Linked DNA regions of Homo sapiens: all the other regions are linked to region 1. The links are contacts of gene promoters, found by promoter capture Hi-C in blood cells and fetal thymus (Javierre and others, 2016). All regions are on one chromosome and are shown on one strand. Each heading gives the region's core, a stretch centred on a gene start or on the middle of the fragment in contact. The rest is flanking DNA. Distances are from core to core; before and after follow the strand shown.

Region 1 (3,817 bases), core at 365-2,864:
AAAGGGGAAGGAATTGCCCAAGGGGCAGAGCTGGAGAGCTCTGCTTTCCCCCTACCCCCAGTCCCAGCTCCATCATGCATTGGACCCTGGACATGGGCACCTCAGCCCATGGCTATTTCCTGCCCACCAATGTGTTCATGAGTCTTGCCCTTCTCCCTGACTAGCTGGGTTCACTTTCCCATCTCTCCTCTACCCCTCTGCTGTCCTTGCAGAGGCTGGCCATACCAATGGGCAGAGTGCACCGGCCTGAGGCATTTAGCTCCTCCAGCAAGATGGTCATGATGGGCACCAACTTCTGCTTGCTCTCCTCCATGGACACGAAGCTGCTCTCTAGCTAGACAGAGCATGGAAAGCATGGTGGGCACATCCCAGGACCCCTGGCTGGTTGGCTGCCCTGAGTCCTGAGCTGGTTTGCAGGGTCCCAGGTTTGGGGGACTTTGGAGACATGGGAACACCTTCCCCAACTCTGCCTGTCGGTAAACCCAAGCCCATCTCATTGCAGACCTCTAGTGTGGTCAGATAGCCAGCCAGCTTTTTAACAATGGGCTCGAGGGCGCAGGTCTTGGCCTGGGCATCACACACGAAGCCCAGGTTGAAGAGGAGAGCATTGCGGCTGTACTTCTTGTGTTCGATGCACACAGGACAGCCGATCAGCTTCTTTTCCATAGCTGTGCTGGATAATTGGAACACAGTCAGGCCCCCAAGCCTGTCCCTTCCTCCTCCTGGGACAACCCCTGCCACCCACCGCTCACCCCGAGCTAGGGTCTCACACAGTGATAAGCTTGTTCTGCAGCTCTGGCTTGGTGATGATGTACACTTGGACTGTGTCAAACAGCTCTCGGGAGATGAAGTCTTCAGGGACCTGGGGAGGGGAGTGGCAATGGGCCCCTCAGTGGACATCTGTACTGGGTGTAGTACAAATGGTGACCTCCTCATGCCCCCCAAGCCCAAGTCCTCTTCTCCAGCGTTCCCCTCTCTCCCATCCACTCAGGCCTATTACTTCTTTCTGTTTCCAAACATACGCTATGATCTCACCTCCTTCCTGGCTTCTGCATATGCTGTTCCCTCTACCTGGAACACTTTCTCCTGCCTTACCTAAACTTCCTATGCATCATTTACTCTTCACTCAGTTCAGGGATACTCATGGGTCACCCAACTCACCTTCTGTGGGACCTGGAACCCCCCAACCGGATCCCTACAGCCCGATATCCTACAAACACTGCCAATGTGACGTATGTCTTCCCTGCCACATTGGGAGCCGGGGGCCTGGGTCTGACTATCCTCTAGCCTCACAGTTGTCTGCGAATGAAGCAGCATGCCTGCGTGCAGCACGGGAAACTACTGCCTTCAGGCAGCCAGTTGAGCTCTCGAGAACGTCCCTCTTCCCGCCCAGTCCCGCGAGCCCGGGTGGCACCTGATAGGTGATCTTGGGTCCCAGCGTGGGGTGGAACTCGCTGAAGAATATGCATTCGATGCGGCAGCCGCTGCCCATGGCAATAACCGGGCCCAGGCCCGTAGCTCCTCGTTCCTCGCGCAGAGGCGTCCCCACCTCCTGTGAACACTTGTCAGAGACAGCCTCGAGGCCTGTGTCGCTGGGGCACGCAAGCTTGCCAATCCCTCTGCCCAATGGCGCCTGCGCAGCGCGACTCAGAGGCGTGGCTGGGGCGGGGGACGGCTCGTCCCAGGAAGTCCTGGGTGGGTAGACGTCGCACCCGGAAGTAAAGCGGCTCCGTGACGGAGCGGCGGTGCGCGCGGCAGGGCCCGGAGTATCCCGCTTTCTTTGGAGGAAACCACCGCATCAGATCTGCGCTGCGGCAGAGGCAGGCAAGTCCCTAGCGTGGAGGGGCAGCATGCTGGCAGCACTTGGGGAGGCGGTGCGCTAAGGGATTCACGCTGTAACTGGGACCGCAGCAGGGAACTACAATTTCCATAGTGCTCCGCGCCCTCCCAGCTGGCTCTACTGCCGGCGACGGCGTGGTACACGCTGGGATTTGTAGTCTTACATGGCTTTGCGCCTCCTACCTGGAAGGCGGGCCAGCGATTGGTACCAGTTCAGACATGGGTACACGTTGACAGGCCGCCGGCCGTCGACTGGCATGTTGTGACCATTCCTGGTGCTGGTCTTGGTACTGTTCTTTCCTACCATAACTTATTGGAAGAGGGTGGCATTCCTGCCTTGCAGCCTTTTCTCCAGTGAGGAGTGAACAGTGGGCACCTGAGATCCTGGCCCACGCTACTATGCTTTCAGGCTACAACCACTAGCACGGCTGACGATGGCCCTTTCTGCGGAGACCGAGTCACACATCTACCGAGCTCTGCGTACTGCTTCTGGCGCTGCCGCCCACCTTGTGGCCCTGGGCTTTACCATCTTTGTGGCTGTGCTTGCCAGGCCTGGCTCCAGTAAGTAGAATTCATAGCTGACTTCTGGGAAGGGAAGGGCCACTGTTCCTGGGGAGGAAGGGCAGTGGGACTTCCGGGAACAGGCCTGGCTGGTTGAGGGAATTCTGTGCTGGAGCGATGAGTGAGGTGGAGCAGGTAGGTATGGCCAGGGCACACAGAATTCCTGGTTTGTCTTTCCTTCTCTGGGTGCTCCATTTGGCTGCCTCTCAGGAGGTGTAAGGGAAGGAGGGAGGACTGCCAGAGGAGTGGCAAAGCATGGCCTCTGATCCAGGAAGAGGCCAGGAAGAGAGGATAGGTGTGGGGTCAGCTTGTTGCAGAGCAAGAAGGGGCTCACAGTTTGGCAGCACCTCCTTGGGTGATGGGCTGCTGGTATTCCTCAACCCTTAAGGATTGGTATGGCTGGTTTCTTCTTGCCTCAGCCCCATGAGGCCTCCTCTTCTCATTCCAGGCCTGTTCTCCTGGCACCCGGTGCTTATGTCTTTGGCTGTAAGTAGTGGGCCTGGGCAGTTCTTAGGGGTGGGAGCATGGGCATGGTTGGTGGCCCTGGCAGCCTCTGAATCTTTGTCCACATTTAATATCTGTTTGGAAGAGTTGCATGCTCCAACTACTCCTGCCCATGGTATATATTTCAGACTTGAGGCTGGGCACGGTGGCTCATGCCTGTAATCCCAGCACTTAGAGGCCGAGGCGGGCACATCACCTGAGGTCAGGAGATCGAGACCATCTTGGCCAACATGGTGAAACCCCGTCTCTACTAAAAATACAAAAAATTAGCCGGGCATGGTGGCACGCGCCTGTAGTCCCAGCTACTCGGGAGGCTGAGGCAGGAGAATCGCATGAACCCAGGAGACGGAGGTTGCAGTGAGCCAAGATTGCGCCACTGCACTCTAACCTCTAACCTAGGCGACAGAGCGAGGCTCTGTCCCAAAAAAAAAAAAAAACCCAAAAACAAAAAAACCCCCCAAAAAACCAAAAATTAGCTGGGTGTGGTGGCAGGTGCCTGTAATCCCAGTTACTCAGGAGCCTGAGGCAGGAGAATTGCTTGAACCCGGAAGGCGGAGATTGCAGTGAGCCGAGATCAGGCCACTGCACTCCAGCCTGGGTGACAGAGAGAGACTATCTCCAAAAAAAAAAAAAAAAAAAAAAAGAGACTTGAATCAGAGTAATGAAGACCCAGGACCCAGGTCAAATGGGTAAGATTTGTCTAAGCACAATGAGGCTTCACCCACCTCTAGGCAGAAAGCTGAGACATTGCATTTGGATGTACCTCTGTCCCTTTTTACTTTAATTTCTGGTGATGCACCTAACTTTCCCTGAAACAGTGCACCCATGTGGCCAGCTCTTGCCAAGAAATTGTATCCAGCCCCACGTTAGGGAAACAAAGCTTGTGAATCATTTATAACTGCCACATCTCAAA
Region 2 (3,817 bases), core at 866-3,365, 1.9 Mb after region 1:
GCTGCAAGTCCACAGGCGTGCGGTGAGGAGGGCTGACAAGGACCCCCAGGGAAAAAGGCAAAGTGCTGTGCTTAGATTTTGCGAAAAGATGCAGGTATGGTGGGTCTCCAGATGACTTGTGGCAACATAAAAGTTTCATGATCAGAATTGGAATTCAAAGTGGACCAAAAAGTGTAATAGAAAAAAAAAAGTATGAAAGGAAACCTGAAATTGTTCTACGATGCTTGCTTTGTTTTAACGGAAGCTCACATTCAGGTCAGGATGGGACGACCAAGTTCGTTTGTGTGTGGCAAAAAGGAAGTTTTAGATGTTGCTGAAAAGTTCACTTATGAACGTGGGCACCAAGTCTGAATGAGTAAGAGAAAGGCTAGGAGCAGGAAGAAAAAGCAAGGGGGCTCAAAGGGGCACAACAAATAAATCCTGACAGCTAAGAAGTGCAACCCACGCGGTCTGACGGCAGAAAGGCCGCGGGAAGCTGAGGGGCAGGGGATGGGCGGAGTGCCAGGGCGGAATCGAGGTCACAGTGGAGAGAGCACAAGAGAGAGCTGACGCTGCCGAAGGAGGCAGAAAAGCAGCCCCTGCAGTCCTGCGTCGAGGCCGGAGCAGACCAGCACCTTTGACAGCCTGAGGAGCTGAAAACGCTACCTGGTGGGCCCAGGGTGGGCGGACCGGGCGTTTAAAGGTCAAGGTCAAGGTGGGGTTTGGCAAGTGATGCATAGCGCTCAAAGGAGACCGAAGACATACAAATAATATTATAAAATTATGACTATCGTTATCTTTTTTTTTTAAGAAGAAAAAAATAAAAGGTCTCCTGGACGGCTGCGGGGTGGAGGCGGCCCTGGCAGGAACGCGTGCAAAATAGGCTGGGGGCTGAAGTCGGGACGGAGGGCAGGCCGAGGGACCTGTGCTGGGCCACCGGAGGGAGGCACTGAGACTCGGGCCCAGGGCCTCCGCCGCACTCACTTGCCCTCCTGGCAGTCATAGAGCACGATGGAGTCGTCGTCGCTACTCGAGATGACCGTCTCGCCGTTGGGGCTGAAATCGAAGCAGTTAATCTTGTCCGAGTTTTCGCGGAACACCTTAGCGACGCGGAAGCTCCGCAACACGCTGTCGGTCAGCTTCATGGCGGCGGCTGGGGAAGGCAGCGGCGGCGCAGGGCCGGGGCGGGGCCCGGCGGCGAGCGGGCGGGCTGCCGAGGGGCCAACCCAGGCGGGGCGGGCGCCGCGCCGGCGGCTAGCGGGAAGTCGGCCAACAGTTGGGCCGCCTCCTCCTCTTCTTCCTGCTTGGTCGAGGGTCTTCTGCCTGGACTGTGGAGCCTCGCCGACCGTTCGTCCTCACAGCCACCTCACGGACAACCGGCGCGTCGCCGGCTCATTGTGTCCGCCATTTTGGGGCGACAGGCAGAAGCTGAGGGCGAGGAGCCTCAGCCGCGGCGCACGCCGGGAAAGGGGGCGGGGCGGGAACGGCGGAGCAAGGCGGGGAGGCGGGGTGGTGACGTCAGCGCGGCCGCGGCGGAGTGTAGTGGCGGGGCGGGCTGCTGGCAGGGAGCGGCCGAGACGTGCAGGGCCTTCCCGGGGGATCGGAAGGTTGCGGATGCCTTGGGAGCCGGGGGCCCTTGCGCGGGATTGCAACCCCCGCGAAGACTCTGGCGCCTCCTGCAGGCGTCCCGATCGCAGGCTGCGTGGGAGGGGGTACTGCAGGGTCGGGTATGCTGCTGGAGGCCGGTTTTGGGGGTGACTCAGGTGAGCCGCTCGCAGGCAAGCTTGACCGCTAGTCCACCGCAGCGTCCGCTTAGACAGCTTCGACCTCTTTACTTTTTTTTTTTTTTTTGGAGATGGAGTCTCTCGCTCAGGCGCGCGCCACCACGCCCAGCTAATTTTGTATTTTTGGTAGAGACGGGGGTTCACCATGTTGGCCAGGCTGGTCTCGAACTCCTGACCTCACCCGCACCCGGCCTCGTTTTCTTAATCGAGGTAGACTTTAGGTACAGTAAAAATCAGCCTTTTTAGGCCGGGCGCGGTGGCTCACGCCTTTAAACCCACCACTTTGGGAGGCCGAGGCGGGATGATCGCTTGAGCTCAGGAGTTGAGACCAGCCTGGCCAACATGACAAAACCCCACCTCTACTAAAATACAAAAAATTAGCCGGGCATGATGGCGCGGCTGAGGCACGAGAATTGAGAAAGGCGGAGGCTGCAGTGCGCCGAAATCGTGCCACTGCATTCCAGGCTGGGCGACAGAGCAGACGGTTTCCCCCCAAAAATTAGCCTTTTTAGTGGCTAGTTTTATGTTCTGACACCCATACACAGTCATGCAGTCACCACCACATTCAAGATTTGGAAGAGTTGCACTATCCTGTTTGTAGTCAACAGGATTATTTTAAAGGTTCTATCATATAAGTGATTATTTGCCTTAAAAGAAAGTTTATCTCTAACAAAGGAAAGCAGTATTTGAACAGAAAATAGGAACCAAGCTTCCTAACCTTAACTTTCTGGGCAAGGGGTTAAACTCAATGCCAACCTATGTGGCTTCACAGATCTGTATCTTGTGTGAAGCTCCTCAAAAGGTTAATTGCCTGGGGTTTCCAACAATGAAGATGGGGATTATTTATTTTTGCTTTCTTTAGCTAAAGAGAAACAAAAACGAGGAAAGGCTGTGAGACATTTCAGTCGCTATTAGGAAGGTTATTATCCAGAGACCTGTGCAATGGTAAAAAACAAAATGGAAACCCTGGGACAGTTGGGGTCTTTCTAGAAAGAACTAGAGGCTGTATCCCAACCCCCTGGGTAAAAGGAGAGCCAGGATCCTTATACATAAAGAGAAGTTGTTCTCTAAGGGAAGAGGCAAGTTCCTGGCTAAGTCTGGGGTATAATTGCCTCCTGACAAAGAGCAGAGCTTCTGGCTACAATTTGTTCTGGGGTCTGGAAAAAGCCGGTTTGAGTGAAACCTGAATAGATGGCAACTTTCCAAACTGCACACAATGGAAGAAAAACCCTCCACGTCCCAGATCACTTGCTCTGCTTCCCTGTAATTCCTGTGCCTTTATTTCAGAAGCTAGAAAGTCTGATACAGCGTCTGCTTCGAATAGTTTAGAAGGCAACAAGGACAGATCGAGTACCATGTTCTAGAACTGTCGGGAAGTGAACACACCCAGTAAGATGATGCCATATTTTGGTCCATGTTAATCTACAAAAATAACCACAGAAACAGCTGTAATCTACTGAATGTTGCCAGCCAAAATAAATCTTTGCAGGGTATTTTTCAAGTATTGTACTTCCTATACCTTTTCCAGATTTCACCGTTAAGACCAAACCTTCCTCCCAAGACTTGACTTTCTGCATTATTTTTGGAATGCAGTCTTTTTTTTTTTCCCCCATTTTTAAGAGGGTCTTCAAATCCTCATCCTGTTTCGCATTCTTACTGTTTCCAATTCCTAGCCTGGCTCCCTGCCCTATTATAGTGGGGCTCTCCTGGCTTCCAGCCCAACAGTATGGTTGCCTTAAAGGATGGACTTTAGGCCAGGTGCGGTGGCACTTTGGGAGGCCGAGGTGGGTAGATCACAAGGTCGGGAGTTCAAAACCAGCCTGGCCAAAATGGTGAAACCCTGTCTCTATTAAAAATACAAAAATTAGCTGGGCACAGTGGCGGGCACCTGTAATCCCAGCTACTTGGGAGGCTGAGGCAGGAGAATCGCTTGAATCCGGGAGGCAGAGGTTGTAGTGAGCCGAGATCACACCACTGCACTGGGCATTAGAGCAAGACTCCGTCTCAAAAAAAAAAAAAAAATGGACTTTAAAAAGTGACACAGAAAGCCGGCT
Region 3 (3,817 bases), core at 897-3,396, 1.9 Mb after region 1:
CTTAAGATCCAGGCAAGAGTGAGGCGCTTAGGAGCCCAGGAAGCCAGAAGAGCCTGGTAGCACTGAAGGAACACTCAGGCCACCTTGGAACAGAGAGGATGGGATTGCCATGTGGTTCCACATGGCTCTGAAAATAGACAATGGCTAAGCTGTGCAACAGACTGCCTATGACATTTGGTTGCCCAGAGCTTCTGTGAAAATACTTCAGGACAAGGCTTTCCCCCACCCAGGGGTGGGTTGGGGAATAGAGTGTATGCACTTTGTTTTGTCCAATTTTAGACTTTAAAATCCTCTGAGGCATCAACTGGTGAGGGTGAGGAAGTGGCCCCATAGACTGAATTGGGCCTGCCCCACCCTGGTACCTTTCTGTTCTGTCACAGTGACAATTCACAGCTCAGAGGTCCTTTGGGAAACTTTCTCTGACATCGCCCCTATCCTCTTGCCAGCTGGATGAAGCAGCATCCACCAGAACTGCTACCATCACTGCAGGGGGCTTGGTGGGCAGAGGCCTGGCTTGTCTCCATTAGCACTGCGTTCCTGTGCCCAGTGTGGCCCCAGCAGACACTGTGGGTTCAGTCAATCAGCCCCCAGGCTGGTCTGGGACTGAGTCATCGGAGGGAGTGGGTGTTGGGCACAGGTCCCTGCCCTAAGAACCTTCCTTCTTGGGCCCGAGGAACTCCCACTGGGGCAGGACTAGCTGCTGGGAGGAAGTAGGGCTTACTGAGCGTCTACCTGGGCTAGGGAGTGGAGGTGAAGGTGGACTCCTCATACAGCTCATATGCAGGCACTGGGCTGTGGAGCCTTAGCCGCTTTTAATTGGCAAGCCCTGGCTTCCTGGAGGAGGAAAGGGGAAGAGAAGTGCCCTGGGGGCGAGGATTGAGTCAGCTGCATTGTCATAATGGAAATAGTACAGCCCTGGGTGTCCAAGACTTCCCCTCCATGGGCCTCAGAATCGTCCATATGATGTAACACTCTTTTTTTTGAGACTGAGTCTCGCTCTGTTGCCCTGGCTGGAGTGCAGTGGCTCCATCTCGGCTCACTGCAACTTCTGCCTCCTGGGTTCAACCGATTCTTGTGCCCCAGCCTTCTGAGTAACTGGGATTACAGGCGCACACCACCACGCTTGGCTAATTTTTAGTACAGACGGGGTTTCACCATGTTGGCCAGGCTGGTCTCGAACTCCTGACCTCAAGTGATCCGCCCGCCTCGGCCTCCCAAAGCACTGGGATTACAGGCGTGAGCCACTGCCTCCGGCCAAAGTAACACTTTTGCACAGGGAGTTGGACTTGAGTGACAAATGGGTGACAAAGTGCTTTGTTAACTCGCAGATGTGAAGGGGACACTGCGGCTGACCGCCTGGTGACAGCTAGCCAGTGGTTGAGAGACCGCAAGATGGTTCCTCGTCTTTCACTTCCCTCCGTCCCAGGTCTGAACTCGGACCAGCTGGAGCCTTTGGGGGACCACGGATTCCCCTTTACACTCACACAGATTTCTCTTGTCCGTCACTCACTCACAGTCCAGTAAGGATCCTGCTGTCTATTCCGCGAAGACATCTTGAATGCAGGGACAGCCATTTGGAAGACTGTCCTCGAGGGTGGCAGCAGCCTCTCAGGACGGGGAAAGCCAAGGTGCCCACTAAGCCCGTCTGGGGTGGAGGGTGGCAGGCCGGGGTGGAGAGGATTGGAGGCCGCCTGAAGGAACCTGTGCTCGGTGGCATTTACTCAATGTGGGGGTCTGACACCTCCCAGCTCATTTTGTCCCCATCTTCCCCTTGCGTCAGGTCCCCACCCAGCAGGAGGAGGTCCGAGGATCTGCGCGACGCTGGCCCCGCGGAGTGTGGGGGACTTTTCCTCTCAACCACCAGTGCCCCGCAAGCGTGGGTGAACAGTCCTCCCTGGCTACTGTGGGACGCTGGGCAGGCGACTTCGCCTCTCTAGGCCTCGGTTTTCCTGCTTGTCAAATGGGGCTGATGCCGGCGTGGGCTTCTTCAGGCGGTCGCGAGCGTTGACCCCTGGAGTCAGCGAACCAGCCGCGCACGCACTCCCGGGCGGAGGTCGGGGCTGGGGGGCGACGCCTCCCGTCTGCGCGCCCCCGGCCCCGCCTCCCGCCGGCGCACCCCTCCCTCGGCTCCGCCCGCGGCCCGCTTCTTCCTCCCGCGGGCGGCCCAGCCCTAGCGCCCCGCGCTCCGCGGGCAGCCCCCTGCCGCCGCGCCATGTCCGCCGGCTGGTTCCGGCGCCGCTTCCTGCCTGGGGAGCCGCTCCCCGCGCCGCGGCCGCCTGGGCCGCATGCCAGCCCCGTGCCCTACCGACGGCCCCGCTTCCTTCGCGGCTCCAGCTCCAGCCCCGGGGCGGCCGACGCCTCGCGCCGCCCAGACTCCCGGCCCGTGCGCAGCCCCGCACGAGGACGCACGCTACCCTGGAATGCAGGCTACGCCGAGTGAGTGCCCCTCCCCGACCCCCAGCTCAGGCCCGGGCCTGAACCCGCTTCGGGTCCTGCGCCCGCCTAGAAAGCGGGAGGAGCTGAGTGACAGTCCCCACCCACCTGTGGACAGCCCCTTCTTGCCCTCACCTCCGAATCCTGACAACTTCCCGGTCATCCCGACCCAGCGTTTTCCTTGGGATTCCGACCTCCCCCTCAGAGAAGACAGGAGGTCGGGAAGGACCTGCAGCCCAGGGGCTTCCAAGATGAGGCCCAGAGACTCGGTAGAGTTCCAGCATTCGGGGCTTTGGAGATTTCCCCTCGCCCTCTACCCCCACCATCTCACCCTGGGTATGACCTGCGCTGTATGGGACAGGGCTTTGGGCTGCGACAGGACAGGGGCAGGAATGGCAACCTACCCTTACCGTCTAGCCCTGGGTCACCAGGTAGGCTCCAGAGGAGCTGGGCCCTGACTTTTACCTTAGCCATGAGGCCAGTGAAGTTAGGAAGCTTACATCGTGGTTGTCTAAGTGTGTGTTAGGGACAGCACTGGGGAGCTGTTGCCCCAGAGGGAGGGGTCTTCTCCCTGTGCTGGCTTGGGTCCCTGTGCCCATGGGGACATAGGTGTGTCCCTGGAGGGTCGCTTACCATTTCCCGGCCTCAGGATTATCAATGCAGAGAAATCTGAATTCAATGAGGATCAAGCCGCCTGTGGGAAGCTGTGCATCCGGAGATGTGAGTTTGGGGCTGAAGAAGAGTGGCTGACCCTGTGCCCAGAGGAGGTGAGTGCAGTCTGAGTTCTTGGCTGGAATCCCTCCGACAGGCTGGGGCCACGACCTGCAGGCTGAGGTTCTTACCCTGCTGCCCCAGGTCCTAGTTAGGTTGCGTCAGGGGACAAGTGGGGAAGTCAGGCAGAGGCTGACACTGAGCCCTTCCTGTGCAGTTCCTGACAGGCCATTACTGGGCACTGTTCGATGGGCACGGCGGTCCTGCAGCAGCCATCTTGGCTGCCAACACCCTGCACTCCTGCTTGCGCCGGCAGCTGGAGGCCGTGGTGGAAGGCTTGGTGGCCACTCAGCCCCCCATGCACCTCAATGGCCGCTGCATCTGCCCCAGTGACCCTCAGTTTGTGGAGGAAAAGGGCATCAGGGCAGAAGACTTGGTGATCGGGGCATTGGAGAGTGCCTTTCAGGAATGTGTGAGTGTGTGGCTTTTGGCTGGGGAAGAAGTGGAGATTTTGCCCCGGGGATCTCAGGAAATGGCATCTCTGTATACCCATGGTCATCACACCAGATCCTTGGATTGGGAGGATGAGATTGGGTTGGTTGGATTGTTACTAACAGCCATCACTATCAGCATAACCCCTCTCATTTATCCAGCACCTACTGTGTGCTAACTG
Region 4 (3,817 bases), core at 620-3,119, 1.8 Mb after region 1:
AGGAAACCAAGCCTTGAAGAGGTTGTGGCCTGCCCAAGTCTATGGCCAAGTAAGATTCAGAGCTGGGTTTGAAACCCATGCCCAACTCCACTATCCAGTTCTTTCTGCTTTGGCTTTGGCTCTGATCACCCCCAAAAAAACCCTATGAGGGCCAGGCGCAGTGGCTCAAGCCTATAATCCCAGAACTTTGGGAAGCTGAGGGTGATCACTTGAGGTCAGGAGTTCAAGACCAGCCTGGCCATCATGGTGAAACCCCATCTCTACTAAAAATACAAAAATTAGCTGGGCGTGGTGGTGTAATCCCAGCTGCTCAGGAGGCTGAGGCAGAAGAATCGCTTGAACCTGGGAGGCAGAGGTTGCAGTGAGCCGAGATTGTGCCACTGCACTCCGGCCTGGGCAACAGAGGGAGACTCTGTCTCAAACAAACAAACAAAATAACAACAACAACAAAAACAACCTGTGAGGCAGGCATTTCAGGGATTATGATCCTATTGCCCAGATAAGGAAAGCAAGGCCCAAAGATGAGCAAAGCACTCAATATCATCCTTATTCTGTTCCCACTTCCAGCTGCACTTGGGTCCAAGTCCAAGTGCTGACCTTTTCTCTCTCATCTTCTCTGGGTGATGGGCACTGCCCAGGATCTCTTGGCTGAATGGCACAGAACTGGGTCTCGAGCTCTCAGACCAAAGCCCTCATCCTGGACTGGTCCCACTGCCACTCTGAACCCAGGTGCCTCCTCTGAAGGTGGAGACTCACCTCACCTGCCTTGCAGCCAGCTGGGTGCTCAGAGACAGAAATGCAAAGTACCTGGACACACCCTGGTCACCATCATTCTGGACTTTGTCCCTCTTGTTAATGCTCAGCTGGGAAAGGAATACCCTCAAAGGCCCTTTCCTCAAGAATGGAGGAGAGTACCTCTGAGCCTGGCACAGGCCCAGCCCAACACAGCCCAAGCCAAGCTGGGAAGGGTGTGGGGCAAGGAAGCCAGACTGACATTCCTGAGACGGGTTTGCCAAGCCCTACACTTTATGTGTTGTACCCGGGAAACTCAATGGAGGTATGGCCCAACGCTGACCTTTGGCATGGAGGCCTAAGCCACCCTGCTGGTGCCCAGGGTGGCCAGCAAGGGGCTTCAGACAACCCTGGATGGAAAATAAAAATAGTGGCTAATATTTGTTACACGCTAACTATTGTCAGGCCCTGTGCCTTCCCCTCCTCCCCAAGTGCTCAGAGCTGTGGAGTGGATGGGTTCCACCCTAGCCCTGTTCCTCTGTCCCCTCTGGATCATCTTAGACCAGAAAGTGCCACAGCTGAGTGTCCCGCTTCTTCCGCATCCTGCCAGGACCACTCCATTTGTGGGCGATATAGCCAGCTCCACCTCCTCCGGGAAGCCCTTGTTCACAGTTTCCAAAGCAAGCCGCAGGCGGGATGGATCCTGCTTAACACCCCGGCCCAGAACCCCTTGGATCTCCTTCTTCCTCCATGTCCAAGACACCCAGCTTAACAACCCTGTAGCCCCCAACTTGGCCCTAGCGGCACCTCGCCTCGACCTTGCCATTTTATACTCAATTGGGGCGTAGGGTTCTGAAGCCCAGGGTAGTTGGTGGGGAGGCAGCACGAGGGTGCAGGATGAGGTCGGGAAAAGAGACCTCGTCCGCCCACCGCCTAGCGCTTCCTCCTCCCTGCAGGCGAGCCGGGGAATCCCCGGCAGCACCGATATCCGCAGAGCCCAAGAAGTGGGCCTCTCTGCCCCGCCCCCCCGGCTCGCCGAGGGCTACGCGGCGCGCCTGCGCAGAAGAAGGCAGCGCCCAAGGCGCATGCGCAGCGGTCACTCCCGCTGTATATTAAGGCGCCGGCGATCGCGGCCTGAGGCTGCTCCCGGACAAGGGCAACGAGCGTTTCGTTTGGACTTCTCGACTTGAGTGCCCGCCTCCTTCGCCGCCGCCTCTGCAGTCCTCAGCGCAGGTGAGGGCCCGCGCGGTAGGTGCGGCGCCGGCCGAGGAAGCCCCGGGGTGTCCTGCCAGCCGTGGCACCGCTGCCCCGGGTGCTGGGACCCCATCCCCCACTGTCCCAGTCACCCGCCGCCTTGAGGTCAGCGTTTATCCTCCAGATCTTTTGCCTAGACGGCCGCCTCAGTTTCCCCCTTTCGGCCCCTTCCGGCTATTCCCGGTTGAACCCGCCGCTTTAGAATTCCCTTCTCATACCCCTCCCGTCATTCTCGAGACCTCGACCGCGGGTCACCTCTGACCCCCACTGCCGGAGGACTGCCTTCTTTCTCCAGACTCAACTCCCTCGACTTTATAAGCCCCTGCGCGTCCCCAGTGAGGCCCAAGGCGCTGGCCCTCATACCCCTACCCTCATTTGTGCCCCTCCTTTCTCAGTTATGCCCAGTTCTTCCCGCTGTGGGGACACGACCACGGAGGAATCCTTGCTTCAGGGACTCGGGACCCTGCTGGACCCCTTCCTCGGGTTTAGGGGATGTGGGGACCAGGAGAAAGTCAGGATCCCTAAGAGTCTTCCCTGCCTGGATGGATGAGTGGCTTCTTCTCCACCTAGATGTAAGCCAAGATGTCTTATCTGCACTGTGCATCTCCCTAAGAAACCTCTGGCCTCCCAAACCTGTTCTTGACCTTTCCCTCATCCTTCCGCCCCCTTGATTATGTACTGTCAGTATTCATTTGGTGAAGTTGCTTTGCAGGTGCCTTTGTGTAGCGCTGGAGAATGAAGAAGTTGGTGACCCGGGTAAAGTGTGGTCACCATTCCTTAGCTCACATCAGTGCTGTCCTTAGGCATTTTTGAGGGAGAAGTGTTAGTATTCCAGGGTACCCTTTATATAAACTGCGGTTGACACCTGAATCCAGTGAGCTTGCAGTGATATTTGCCTGATTATTAACAACTGTTGATGTCACTCTTCATCAGTCTTTCCACAGGAGCCAGCATACTTCCTGAACATGGAGAGTGTTGTTCGCCGCTGCCCATTCTTATCCCGAGTCCCCCAGGCCTTTCTGCAGAAAGCAGGCAAATCTCTGTTGTTCTATGCCCAAAACTGCCCCAAGATGATGGAAGTTGGGGCCAAGCCAGCCCCTCGGGCATTGTCCACTGCAGCAGTACACTACCAACAGATCAAAGAAACCCCTCCGGCCAGTGAGAGTAAGTGTCATTGACAATGAAGGAGCAGGTATGGGTGTTTGTGCTCATTGGTAGACTAGAAGCAGTCCCCACAGTGGTGGTGAGGGTCACACTCACTCACAGAGGGCTGCTATGTGCAGGCTGGGCTCTGAGCACAGATTATCTCATATGATTGTCCCCCCAAGGGTAGGCACTTTTAGCTTTTCCATCTTTAAAGGTGAAACAGTGGCCAGTGTTGCACATTACAGGTTTTTGGATTGCACGTTAGTGTCTATAGGGGTTTTAGTGTTTCCTCAGTGCCTCGTTCACATAAATATTAAATTGGAATGTTCTAATTTCCCTCATTAAACATTTAGCCTTCTAATTTCCCTCATTAAACATTTGGCCTTCGGCTTTTTATTTATTTAATTTTTCTTTTTTGAGACTGAGTCTTGCTCTGTCGCCCAGGTTGGAGTGCAGTGATGCAGTCTCGGCTTACTGCAACCTCCACCTCCCAGGTTCAAGTGATTCTCCTGCCTCAGCCTTCCAAGTATCTGGAATTACAGGCATGCACCACCACGCCCAGATAATTTTTGTACTTTTAGTAGGGTTTCACCTTGTTGGTCCGGCTGGTCTCAAACTCCTGACCTCAAATGATCCACCTGCCTCAGCCTCCCAGAGTGCTGGGATTGCAGGCGTGAGCCACCGT
Region 5 (3,817 bases), core at 479-2,978, 1.7 Mb after region 1:
TCCCCCTTCTCCCCTAGACCACCTCCCGTGCCTCCTCTCCAGGCCTCTGCCTCCATCCCGACAGTCATTCCCCACACAGCAGCCAGAGGGATCTTTTGAGAAGGTGGAGGCAGCCTCTCCTCCTCCACAGCCTCCCACTGTCCCCAGCATAGAGTCTACACTCTGCATAGAGTCTACACGATGCTCTGTGACCCCTCCCCTCCCTCTTCTCCTCGTCCTGGATTCTCCAGCAGCTTTCACTCTCTCACCCGCACTTCCCCAGCCCGGGCTCCTTCTGCAGGGCCTCTGCCCTCACTGATCCCCCTTCTGAAACCCTCTTCTCCCAGCTCTCGCCTTTGACTACCTTCTTATTCTGTCCCCCAAACCCACTCATCCTCTGAGGGCCACAGTGGGCACCTGGGAAGTGGCAGAGCCAGGATTGGAACCCTGGCCTACTTCTAGACTCTTCTGTGTTGTCAGCCATGAGCACATGGTCCTATGATTTAAACATGTTTGGGGCCAGGCGTGGTGGCTCACACCTGTAATCTCAGCATTTTGGGAGGCTGAGGTGGGTGGATCACTTGAACTCAGGAGTTCGAGACCAGCCTGGGCAACATGGCGAAACCCCATCTCTACAGGAAAAAAAAAAAAAATTGCTGGGTGTGGTGGTGCATGTCTGTAGTCCCAGCTCCTCAGGACACTGGGTGGAAGGATTTCTTGAGCCTGAGGGGCAAAGGCTGCAGTAAGCCATAATCATGCCGCTGCACTCCAGCCTGGGCGACAAAGCGAGAGGCTGTCTCAAAAAACCAAAGCAAACAAAACCCACAAAACAAAACAAAACATCTTTGGCCCTCCGTTGCCATACTCGATGATTCCAGAAGCCTCTTACTTCCATTCCCTCCTTGGGCCTCAGCCTGTTCTGTATGACCTGCCCAGAGTCACTCAGTGAGAGTCTCTGGAGCCAGAGGGCTCCCTGACATGAAGGGATGGACCTGCTGGCACCTTGCCTGGCAGGCCTCATCCTGGCCTTGGACCATAGCCCTTGATTTCCCCCACCCAGCTACAGCTCCTCCGTCCTCCACAGAATGAGCCCAAACTCCCACCTCTTCATGGACCTGAAGGTCCCTGGGGTCTTAAGCCTGGGTTTTAGTCCTATACCCCACCGCCACCCCCCTTCAAGCCTGGAGGAGGGGCTGGGCTGGGTCAGGGGTTCTGACTCACCTGGGCACCCCATCTGCTGACACGGAGGTCATCCCTAGAGAGCCAGGAGAAGACACTCAACAGCCCAGGGAAATCAGGTGTGCTGCATCTGATGTCCTCGGGCCTCAGAGGCAGGCAGAGGAGAAGGGGAAAGGACTCAGATAAACCCAGGTGGACTGGGTTCCCTGCTCCAAAGCCACGGGTGAGGGCTACACCCTCGCCTCTTGCATCCCCTTCCCCACGATCCTCAGCATCTCTGCCCTGGGATGATCTCTCGCCTGCCTTACACTCCAGGGCTTGTGGGCTGCACGCCATGAGCCCACCTGGGAGCCTGAGGGATGGGAGCCAGGGCTTTGCAGGAGCAGGAATCCTTAGCTGCATGCCCACGTGGCCACCATGGCACTCTTGGCCCCCTGCTCAAAATTTCTGATCTTTCGAAGGCCACCTCTGCCAGGAAGGGCCTGGAGCCCAGGTGGTTTGAGCAGGGGATGGGGAGGGGGAGAAGACATCTCGGGCAGGCATTTGCTCAACCAGAGCAATGGCAAGAAGTAGTGATGGGGCTGGGGGTTGCCCTGGTTCTATCTTTGCCAAACCAACCTATGGTTTTTTGATTGGCAGAGCTGGCAGTGGGAGGTTCCTGACAGTGAAGACAGTCCAACCTTTGAGGCGGGGAGGGCAAAAGAGGCCAGGAGTTCTCATGGCACCTCGTGGGCGGATGTGCCAGGGGCTTAATTGCCTCATTAGCATCTGCCTGCTGCCTGGGCCTGTCTGGTCCCCTCCCTGCCTGCCCACACGGCCCCGTTTTTCAGGAATCCTTCCTATGAGGCATTGATGGTGACAGTGAGGGTGACCATGACGAAGCTGGGAAATGGCTTGGGAGCCGGCTGGCCTGGCCCAGGTGCAGGGTTGCTGGCTTGAGGCCTCATAGCCCAGCACCATTCCACGTGGTTCAGCTGGCCAGCTGCCTGCCGGGACCTGGATGCGGACTGTTCCCAGGTAGGCAACAGCAGGAAATAGTCTAAGGACTCCCCTTCCTGCCCTGGCCCCACCCAGCCTGACTCCGGCCACAGGCGCACATGCTTCAAGACTTGGATGACTCCCTTCCTGAAAAGATCAGGCCCTCGAGGAGGGAGGAGTTCAATGGCTCTCTCAGGGCTCCTAGTGGGCCCTCCAAGGTGGGGACAGGATGGACAAGGGCCTACTCTGCCTGGGCCCCTGCCCACCTCCCTGCCCCTCCCCGTGGCTTACGTAGTCTCCCAGCAGAGGACAGCACTGCCCTGACACCCATCTCCAACAGGACAACCCTCTAGCCTGAGCCCTAGGAGCAGCTGAGCCCAGGGCTGGTGGGCTGAAGAGTGTTGGGAGGCATTTGGCTGGAGCTGGAGACCTCCCCAGAGACCCTGAAGCATCAGCCAGCCCACAGCCCCAAGGCCCGGCCCAAGAACTCAGTCTGAGGGGTAGCTGGATTCCCCAGGCCATGGGCACTACCCAGACTTGGAGCTCCCAGGAACAACAAAAAGGCCCAAGGAGCTGGAGCCCATGGAGCTGGGGAAACACAGCTCTGCTGCCTGCAACACACTTGGGGGGCCTCTGCAGTGCCCCAGCCCCTGGGCCTTAATCTCTCCATCTATAAAGCAGGGCAGTACCTTCTGCCTCCCCTGACTCCCAGGGACTATGGGGCAGCCAGGGAAGTTCCACATTGGGCCCATCAGAGGGAAAGGAAAGGCCTCTTTGTCCTAAGTGGCTGGGTATGGGCCCTCGACTACCCCTATGCACTTTGGGCAGCAGGAGTGGCCTTGGCCTGACCCACCTGTGCCAGAGAAGGTCAAGTGCTGACCACCTGGCAGGCCCTTTGCCAGGCATAGCAGGACAGCCCTATGTGGCCCTCAGGTGACCAAGGTGTGAGTATGCCATGTGTGTTGGGACAGGGCAGGGATAAGATTGGGTTGGGGTGGAGATAGGGGAGCCTGACCAAGACACTTGGCTCCAATTTTGACCACCACTGGCCTCCCCTCTCCAAGCCTCAGTTTCTTCCTCTATAAGGAGTCCCCAGATCCCGGGCTGTGGAGAACCGCCTGAGCTCCACCTCCTATCAGGTCAGCGTTGGCATTAGATTCTCATAGCAGCGCGAACCCTATTGTGGACAGCGAATGAGAGGGATCTAGGTTGCATGCGCCATATGAGAATCTAATGCCTATGATCTGAGGTGGAACAGTTTCATCCCGAAACCATGCCTCCAGCCCAAGTCCATGGAAAAATTGTCTTCCACGAAACTGGTCCCCGGTGCCAAAAAGGTTGAGGACCGCTGGTCTATAAAATGGGGCTTCAGTCTACCAGGCAAGAGTGTTGCAAGGCAGCAGATGAGCTATGTAAAGAGCCTGGTCCTGCCTTCTGCTCAACCTCTTTGTGCCCAGAAAGTAGAGAGAGGACCTAGGGGTAGTCAAGGACTCCGTGTGGGAAGCCCCCTGGAGCAAAGGGATGAGAGGGGGCCTGTGAGCAGCTGTGCCAGGCAGTGTGGGCAGACGGGGCTCTAAGCAGAGAGGCTGGCCCCCATAGGGAAATGGGGACAAAGGAGCTCGTCCAAGCCTAGAGCCAGGGGCTGCCCATCCCAAGGCTGATGTCGCAGTAGGAGAGTAGT
Region 6 (3,817 bases), core at 278-2,777, 1.6 Mb after region 1:
CCCTGTCTGCCAAGGTTGTGGGGCTTCAACTTCCTACAGCAGGGGTTCGACCAAGTTTTTTCCTGACATCCCCTCAGGGACACCCCCTCCCCTCTTTAGAAGAAGGTGTCAATTAAATACCAAGTCTGGTCCAAAAGACTTATAGCCAAGGTGGGATATGGGGAAACTGAGGCTCAGAGTTTGTGATTCACTCCACGGAACAGAGAGCAAAAGTAAAGGGAAGGAACAGACTGGGGACATGCTCAGCTCTCCCCTAGACCCTCCAGCCTTCTCAGCTAATCCTTAGAACCCCCTGACACAGGAAGAGAAGCTGACCCCAACTCCAGCACTGGGTCAGATGGAGGTCATAAGGCTGGTCAGTGTGGGAATGTGCCCTGCACGCACTCAGACAAGGCCACTCCTTACCCTAAGTGCCACTGCCAAGCAAGGGAGATAGCCAAACTGCCCTCAGGAGGCAGGTTACACCCTGACCAGAGGGTTACACTTCAGGCTGTGGAGACCAAGGAAAGCTTTATTATGGGTCTGGTAGGGTAGAAAAAGGAATTGCAGGCTTTGGGTGGGCCAGTTAGGCTGTGCTCAGGCAGAAGCCAAAGCTAGAGAAAAACTACATGAGAGGCCTTGACTGTGCACCTGGAACCAAGAAAAGACACTTCCATGTGATTCAGTGCACTCACCCCCTTAAGAGATTCGTATCTTTGTGATCGGGGTTTCTTGATACCATTTCTGTGCCATTTTCGGGCTGTGGGAGAAAAAAAGGGAATTAAGCCAACAAAGAACTTTCCTCTAATAAGACCACCCAACATCACAGCTGGCAAGTCTGGGAGAACCAACACTTCCTACAGCAGCTACACTTGAGATATGGGAAACCCTTACTACTAAATGCAAAACACTCTGTATCTCAAGTAGATCTCTAAACCTATAAACCCTAAAGTTATTACTGGGTGAAATCAATCAGCCTCAGGCCCACAATGGAAACGTGCCCCTTCATCTCTGTCCCAGTTTGCCTGAACCAGTCCTTGCCAGGGTCTGGGATGTAGGCAGGGCCCAAAAAACTTACACTGGTTGTGTGTGGTGTGGTTCTTGGACTTGGCCATGTCTGCACCTGGAAGACAAAAGTGGAGATCAGGGTTAAGGGCTCGCCAGGCTGGGCCACCTCTGCCCCCCCCATTCTGGTCAGAATGAGCCTGCAGGCAGAGAATGTGCAGCCTCCACGAGTCTCGGCTTACTCTGCACGACCAAACGCCAGTCCTGGCCTCCCAAACCCAGGTAATGATGCCCTGAAATCAACTCCTTACCCCCGGAAAGCTGCATTCCCCAATAAAGTGGCTTTCCCTGCCATCCCCCTCCTAGGACCTAGAAGCACCATTCCCACCCCGCAGCTTTTGCTCCCGACAGACACACGGTCGGTCACCAGTCCTCTCCGCAGCCCGCGCCCCGCCGCCACCCGTAAGTCGCGGATGGCATCGGATGCCGCGCGGCCAACACTCACCATAAGCCGCGGCTCCCGAAGCGCCTAGAACCGGAAGAGAAAGGGGCTGCGGTGCAGCACGGGAAATAGGGTCAACAACGCCGGAAAGTACTACTGGAAAAGCTTCCCCAGGCTCCGCGAAGAAAAGTTCCGAAGCCCGGAAGAACGCAAGCCAGACGTGGAGGCGGTGCTACGAGCTTGCCTCCGCCCCCTTCAGGCTGCCTCCTCCCTTCTCTGTTTCTCCAGGACCTGTCTCTTAAGTCTTATTCAAGATACTGAAAAAGAAAGGAGTCCTTGAGGGATGTTGTTGGGCAAGAAGATCTGTGTTCTTTTTCTTTTTTTTTTTTTTTGAGACGGAGTTTCGCTCTTCCACCGAGGCTGGAGGGCAGTGGCACAATCTCGGCCCACTGCAACCTCCGCCTTCCGGTTTCAAGCGATTCTCTTGCCTCAGCCTCCCGAGTAGCTGGGATTACAGGCGCCCACCACCACGCCCGGCTAATTTTTACATTTTTAGTAGAGACGGGGTTTCACCATGTTGGCCAGGCTGGTCTCGAACTCCTGACCTCGCGATCCGCTCGCCTCTGTCCCCCAAAGTGCTGGGATTACAGGCGTGAGCCACCGCACCTGGCCGATCTGTGTTCTTAAAAGCACCCCTGTAATCCCAGCACTTTGGGAGGCTGAGGTGGGCGGATCACGAGGTCAGGAGTTCCAGACCAGCCTGGACAACATGGTGAAACCCCATCTCTACTAAAAATCCAAAAAAAAAAAAAAAAAAAAAAAAAAAATTCACGGGGCGTGGTGGCACGTGCCTGTAATCCCAGCTACTCTGGAGGCTGAGGCAGGAGAATTGCTTGAATCTGGGAGGTGGAGGTTGCAGTGAGCCAAGATCGCACCATTGCACTCCAGCCTGGGCTACAGGGCGAGACTCTGTCTCAAAAAAAAAAAAGAAAAGCACGCCTGACTCTTTCGTGGAGAAGGAGCAGAGGGGAGGAAGGAGAGAGGGCTGCCTGGACCTGAGGGAGGACAGTGGGAATGCAGAGGAGTGGACAAAGAAAGAGTACTGGACTTGGGACACAGAAGATGAGGGAGAAAAAGGAGGCAAGGATAGCCCCTATGTCTTTGGCTTGACAACTGGGTGAATGGTGGGCTGTTTACAGAGATGGAAGATTGAGTGGGGAGCAGGGGCTTTGTTTGTTTTGTTTTGAGGGGGAATGATGAGCCAGATATTTTTGTTGGATGCATTAAATGTGAGATGCCTGTTGGACATCAGAATTGAGAAATTGTTGCCTCTAACAACTCTGTTGCCTTCTCCACCTCTTCCCCCTATAGTTCATTTTCCACACGGCAGTGGGGCTTGGGGACTTGTTTTAAGATACAAATCAGATCCTGTCCCTTAAATCTGCAAGGACATCCCCTTGCATTGAAGATCAATTCTTTACCCACTTGACCCTGACAACCTCTGTCATTTACTTCTCTCCAAACGCATTGCCTTTCTTTCCTGCCAACCACAAATGTGTGTTCTGCCTCAGGACCTTTGCACTTGCTATCCCAGCCACCTGGACTGCCCTTCTCCCTGCTTTTTGGATGGTGTGCTCTTTCCTATAGAGGCCTCCCTGGACTCCATTATCTAAAATAGAGAACCACTGCCTCATCTCACCAGTGATTCTGTGTCCTCTCATGGTTTCCTTTCTTTTCTATTCTTTTTTTTTTTTTCTTTTTTTTAGACAGTCTCACTCTGTCTCCCAGGCTGGAGTGCAGTGGTGCGATCTCAGCTCACTGCAACCTCTGCCTCCCGGGTTCAAGCGATTCTCCTGCCTCAGCCTCCTGAGTAGCTGGGATTACGGGCGCACACCACCACTCCCAGCTAATTTTTAAAGAATTATTTTTAGTAGAGACGGGTTTTCACCATGTTGGCCAGGCTGGTGTTGAACTCCTGACCTCAGGTGGTCTGCCCGCCTCGGCCTCCCAAAGTGCTGGGATTACAGGCGTAAGCCACCGTGCCCGGCCATGGTTTGCTTTCTTTATAGAACTTTCCCAGACTCTAATTGCATTGTTTACTTAGTTGTGTATGTGTCCATTATCATAGGAGCCCAGAGTTTGGGACTGGTTTGATCACCTTCATTTTCCCACTGCCTAACTCAGCATAATGTAGATAGAGCAAGAGCTTAATAAACACATGCCCAGTGAACGTTCCTTGACAAGCCAGGTTCGTGGAGTGACAGACGCATACTGCAGAGGTTTAGGGAGTGAAGCGGAAAGGAGGTTGTGGAGGCAGGACATGTGGATGACTCATTACCAAAGCATTCCTGAGAAAGGGGAGAGAATTCTGACAGGTGTGAGTTGGGAGAA
Region 7 (3,817 bases), core at 341-2,840, 1.3 Mb after region 1:
ACTAATCCAGCATCACTAGCACCCTGTGAGCGTCTGGCTGTTCTTACAACCTATGGTGAGTCAGAGCTTGCTAATGTAACCTACTGCTATGCTATGGGGTGGTGCTGCCCACAGCTGGATGGGCTGGCAGCTCTGTCAAGGGTTCTTCAGCCTCTACTACTAAGCCATGCCAAACCAAGCATTTGGAATCCCCAGCTCTGATTTCCTTGCCTGGAGAGCTCAAGTGCACAAGTCCTGCAGTCTACCCAATGTGTGCTGACCGGCTTACTGGGGCACTAGTTGAAACAGGATGTACTGGTTCCCTCTCTGTGCCAGGTTCTACTCTACACCTACACTCTGGAGATGAATCAGACCTGGCTCTGCCCTCAGGAAGCTCTGTGTGGCTGACATGTCAGCCCCACATAAGTGATTCTCCAACAAGACACTGTGCTTGATGTCCACAGAACTTTGAGCTGTAGGTTCAGGGAGGCTGCCATGAGTCTGCTGGGGAGGCTCAGAGAAGGGGTAGATTTCAGCTGGGCCTTCTCATGTAAGTAGAATTTTGCTTTGTTGGGAAGGGGTACTTGGCTAAGAAAACTGTGACAGCAAGAGCCTGAAGACATGGGATGACCAGAGAATTGTGGTTAGTAGACATGTCTTGGGTGGAGAAAGGTGGAAGGGTTTGCCCAGCCAGGTGGTGGGGAAGTACAGCAGGTTGAGAAGAAGGATGTGGCACAATTTGCCACCTTTGTTTTAGGAAGTTAGCTGAAGGGCAGGTGGAGGAGGGAAGGAGATGAGGCAGGAGGCCGTAGAAGAGATTGGGCTGGGTCCAGGTGAGAGGCGACATGGGTTGGTTGAGGTTTTGCAGTCACATGGCCAGGAGATGGCACTAACTGAAGTTGGGAGCACTGGAGCCTGAGTGGGATGGGACAGACAGTGGGCTATGGGGAGCTCCTAGAGCAGATGTGTGACCCTCACCCCTTCAAGGGCTCCGTTGTGTAAGGCCCTGCCCCCCCTTCCACACCTGGCCCAGTCAGAGCCTTCTGCAAGAAGAGTCCTTGCAGCTGGCTGTCTTCTCATTGGCGTGTCTGCCTGTTCTGGAATCAACAGGTTGCCTCTTGGGTTGGAGGTGCTAATTCCTGGATGGGAAAGGGCTAAGGCAGCAGGGTACCCTGGGGTCAGTGCTGGAGGCTGGTCTAGGGAAGAGTGAGATGGAAGAAGCCTGGCATGGGATATTCTGGCCTGGCCACTGCCTCCTGCAGCTTTCCCAGAGATGTGGTGGACCCCATGGGGTGGGCCCTGGGTCTCCAGGGTTGGTTGGTCATAGTCTGACTAGGGTGCTTGTCTGGGGGACTGTGGCCTGAGAGCACAGCCTTGAGGCTAGCAGTCCCGAGTTCTGATTCTGTCCCATCACTGTCCTGCTGAGTGATCTTAGGCATATCCCATAATGTTTCTGAGCCTCTATTTCCTTGTCTGCAGAGTAATGATAAAATACCTGCTTCATAGTAGACTGAGAAGAGTTAAGTGATATAGGTGAGGCATTTACCCCAGCACTTAGCCCTCAACAGATGCTTAACAACAACAAAGATGGGTGGGAAAACCACTTGTGCTAACATATGCTGAGAGGTCAGACTGAGCAAACCTAGACCCTTGGCCTGGCTGTGGTCATTTGGGTGGCACAGAGGATGATGAACAAGTCAAGGTGGCCCTTCTGACCCTGCCCATCCCAGTCCTGGGTCAGTCCAGAAGACACCTGTGTCCCCATTTAGAGCTAGGTCACACTTGGCACCTGGGATGGCTCAGGGACACTTGGGTCCCCATTTACTCTTGGAGCTGGTCAGTGCATTCTCTGCCTGACAGAGATTGTAACAGGTTCAGGGAACCATGGACCCCCAGGCTTCAGGTGCTCGTGGCTATCACAGACTGGTCCGGAAGGACCTGAGGCCTCCTGGTCCACACTCCATATTATGGAGGGAGAAACAGATTCAGATAGTAGGAGAAAGGCACTGATCTCATATGTTTTTGTTTTCATTTAACAAATATCTGAGCACCTGCTCTGTACCAGGCTCTGTGTTGGGCACTAGGGTACCATGGGGACCAGGACCTGCCAGTGTGTGGGTGTTAGGAGCCTAGAGGAAAGGCCCCATCCTGGTCCTGGAGTGGGCTGAGAACCAAAGGTTTTTGTCCCCTAGGCTGCCTCCACCAGCAGTGTGCAGCGTGGCATGCTCTGGTTCTCAGAGAAAGAGAATAGAGGCTGACCTGTTCAGTGTCCCACCCCCACTGTGTCCTTCCCTAGCCCAGAGTGACAGGAGCCAGAACCTGCTTCTCTGTGAGTGTGGGGAGGCAGTGAGGCTGTGTCAGGCTCTGTGAGTGGGGTGGTGAGTAACCAGGTGAGAGGTGCCACCTGGCTTTAGATGCTGCCCACCCCATGAGGTGTGACGGACAGCTCCCTAGCCATGCCTCGTCCTGTCCTCAGCTGGGCAGGGAGTAGGCTGGTCCCACCTAGGCTGGGTGTGGACCCAGGAAGTAGCACAAGAAAGGGTACCACTAAGATTGGACAGTGGCAGTTGGTGTGGACCTGTTCATAGTAGCTGCTGCTGGAGCTGTTAGCCTTGTGCCCTGGAGTCCTGTATGGGAAGAGGCTGCAGGTCTGGGTGAGTGGTTCTTGTGAGGCAGGAGGAAGGATTCCATTCTCCATCCCTGAAACCCTTGGCATGGTTGGGAATGGGAAGGTGGGGAAGAAGTCTTTTGGGAAGTGGACAGACCCTGGCAGGGGCTCATGGGTGTACTCACCCACCTCAGAGCCCAGCATTCATGGAGTGTGGGCCATTCCTCTTCAAGGTATGCAAGGGATGGGGTATGAGTTCAGAGATAAGGATCACATGTAGGCGGATGTCAGTCACAGATCTCCCTTACACACACTGGTCCATACTGCCCTTGCATGACTGGGGAAGGGTCCTGACTAGAAAAACTGCTCTGCCTTTAGCCCTGCTTCTGCGGTGGGTGCTGGGGGCTTGGAAAGTGACTTCAGGCTCCCTTTTGGGGCCTGGTCCCTCTGGGAGCCTTCAGTGTTGGAGGGGAAGGAAGGAGCTGAGAGGACCCTGAGTGCCTCGCTTGATCCTGGCCAGCTCTGGCCTGTGGACAGGCCCTAGTGGCTGGGCTGCTATCACTGTGCCTGTGGGCCCATCCTGTCTGCCAGGCTGGCTCTCTACCTCCTGCCCCACCCTGTGCCACCATCACCTCTGCTGCTATGTTTGGGGCTTAAGCAACCTGCCTGCTTGCTTATATGGGGAGCCTGGCTGGGGCAAGATGGGTGTGGCAGCTAGTTCAATTTATGTGGCCCAAGTGGGCCTATATTTGCTGCTTACATCTACTACCTAGGAGGTGGTGTTTGCTCCAGGCATGGAGTGGGTTGGGGAACTGGTGGTACTTGCTTCTGCCTTTAGTAAACAAGACTGCCATTGAAGCCCCCTTTCCCTTAGTCCAATGAGAACCAAGGCCCAGGGCCACTAGGTCTGCAGGGGCCTGTGGTCATTTGGCTGGCATGACCACAGCCTCACAGAGGCTGGTGAGAGTTCTGATGTAGGCCTGTGTCACACTCCCTCCTCCCTCAGTGTGTGTGGAGAGAAGGCTCCCTGCCCTCCCTGGAGGCACTTAGTTTGGGTGGAGCCTGGGAAGGGGTGAGGGAGTAGGATTTCCCAGGACTGACCTCCTCAACAAAGGCAATGGGAATGTGGGCTGGGATGTTTCCTGAGGGCTCAGGCCGCCCCCTATCCTGGTTACTCCATGGTTATTTTCTGCCAGGTGGAGTCCAGGCATTTGCTGTGCAGCAGGTTAA

What was found. Contacts are between HindIII fragments. The CHiCAGO score rates a contact against its expected background, and 5 or more counts as called.
Region 2: a fragment that was not itself captured here is called in contact with the fragment with the promoter of NPRL2 in region 1 in 1 of 17 cell types (fetal thymus); the score reaches 5.1 in fetal thymus.
Region 3: a contact is called between the fragment with the promoter of PPM1M here and the fragment with the promoter of NPRL2 in region 1, in 1 of 17 cell types (total B cells). The highest score is 5.3, in total B cells.
Region 4: a contact is called between the fragment with the promoter of ALAS1 here and the fragment with the promoter of NPRL2 in region 1, in 3 of 17 cell types (total B cells, erythroblasts and neutrophils). The highest score is 9.6, in total B cells.
Region 5: the fragment with the promoter of LINC00696 here is called in contact with the fragment with the promoter of NPRL2 in region 1 in 3 of 17 cell types (endothelial precursors, erythroblasts and total B cells); the score reaches 7.1 in endothelial precursors.
Region 6: the fragment with the promoter of RPL29 here is called in contact with the fragment with the promoter of NPRL2 in region 1 in 5 of 17 cell types (total B cells, erythroblasts, naive CD4 T cells and 2 more); the score reaches 8.2 in total B cells.
Region 7: a fragment that was not itself captured here is called in contact with the fragment with the promoter of NPRL2 in region 1 in 1 of 17 cell types (non-activated CD4 T cells); the score reaches 5.5 in non-activated CD4 T cells.

The regions. Positions count from the first base shown.
Region 1 is chr3:50,349,161-50,352,977 of GRCh38, forward strand. NPRL2 (NPR2 like, GATOR1 complex subunit) reads right to left here and starts at 1,615. Exons shown (of 11, transcript NM_006545.5): 1 at 1,415-1,615; 2 at 771-862; 3 at 505-673; 4 at 226-334. The coding sequence starts at 1,492. It overlaps CYB561D2 (cytochrome b561 family member D2), which reads left to right and starts at 1,702. Exons shown (of 4, transcript NM_001291284.2): 1 at 1,702-1,824; 2 at 2,249-2,400; 3 at 2,849-2,886. The coding sequence starts at 2,274. LOC127898564 (CYB561D2-LOC101928965) reads left to right here and starts at 1,702. Exons shown (of 5, transcript NR_183066.1): 1 at 1,702-1,824; 2 at 2,249-2,400. RefSeq lists an enhancer at 1,657-1,876. The HindIII fragment of the contact is 2,178 bases long and covers 1,605-3,782 here.
Region 2 is chr3:52,277,238-52,281,054 of GRCh38, forward strand. WDR82 (WD repeat domain 82) reads right to left here and starts at 1,412. Exons shown (of 9, transcript NM_025222.4): 1 at 964-1,412. The coding sequence starts at 1,124. RefSeq lists enhancers at 139-771, 275-324, 345-424, 835-934, 1,404-2,035 and silencers at 1,125-1,204, 1,385-1,674. The HindIII fragment of the contact is 710 bases long and covers 1,761-2,470 here.
Region 3 is chr3:52,243,613-52,247,429 of GRCh38, forward strand. PPM1M (protein phosphatase, Mg2+/Mn2+ dependent 1M) reads left to right here and starts at 2,147. Exons shown (of 10, transcript NM_144641.4): 1 at 2,147-2,436; 2 at 3,083-3,200; 3 at 3,362-3,616. The coding sequence starts at 2,213. RefSeq lists silencers at 2,021-2,390, 2,431-2,490. The HindIII fragment of the contact is 3,516 bases long and covers 1-2,926 here.
Region 4 is chr3:52,196,291-52,200,107 of GRCh38, forward strand. ALAS1 (5'-aminolevulinate synthase 1) reads left to right here and starts at 1,870. Exons shown (of 12, transcript NM_000688.6): 1 at 1,870-1,965; 2 at 2,382-2,558; 3 at 2,920-3,150. The coding sequence starts at 2,952. RefSeq lists enhancers at 1,412-1,481, 1,492-1,711 and silencers at 1,852-1,921, 2,032-2,111. The HindIII fragment of the contact is 12,746 bases long and covers 1-3,817 here.
Region 5 is chr3:52,063,384-52,067,200 of GRCh38, forward strand. It overlaps LINC00696 (long intergenic non-protein coding RNA 696), which reads right to left and starts at 1,729. Exons shown (of 1, transcript NR_027331.1): 1 at 1-1,729. The HindIII fragment of the contact is 16,366 bases long and covers 1-3,817 here.
Region 6 is chr3:51,994,368-51,998,184 of GRCh38, forward strand. It overlaps RPL29 (ribosomal protein L29), which reads right to left and starts at 1,528. Exons shown (of 4, transcript NM_000992.3): 1 at 1,490-1,528; 2 at 1,058-1,102; 3 at 675-739. The coding sequence starts at 1,094. RefSeq lists an enhancer at 1,473-1,632. The HindIII fragment of the contact is 1,082 bases long and covers 508-1,589 here.
Region 7 is chr3:51,675,198-51,679,014 of GRCh38, forward strand. The region is part of intron 2 of TEX264 (testis expressed 264, ER-phagy receptor); the gene reads left to right. Among named protein-coding and RNA genes, the nearest start is that of TEX264, 5.9 kb to the left of the region's middle. RefSeq lists an enhancer at 3,428-3,817. The HindIII fragment of the contact is 6,271 bases long and covers 1-3,817 here.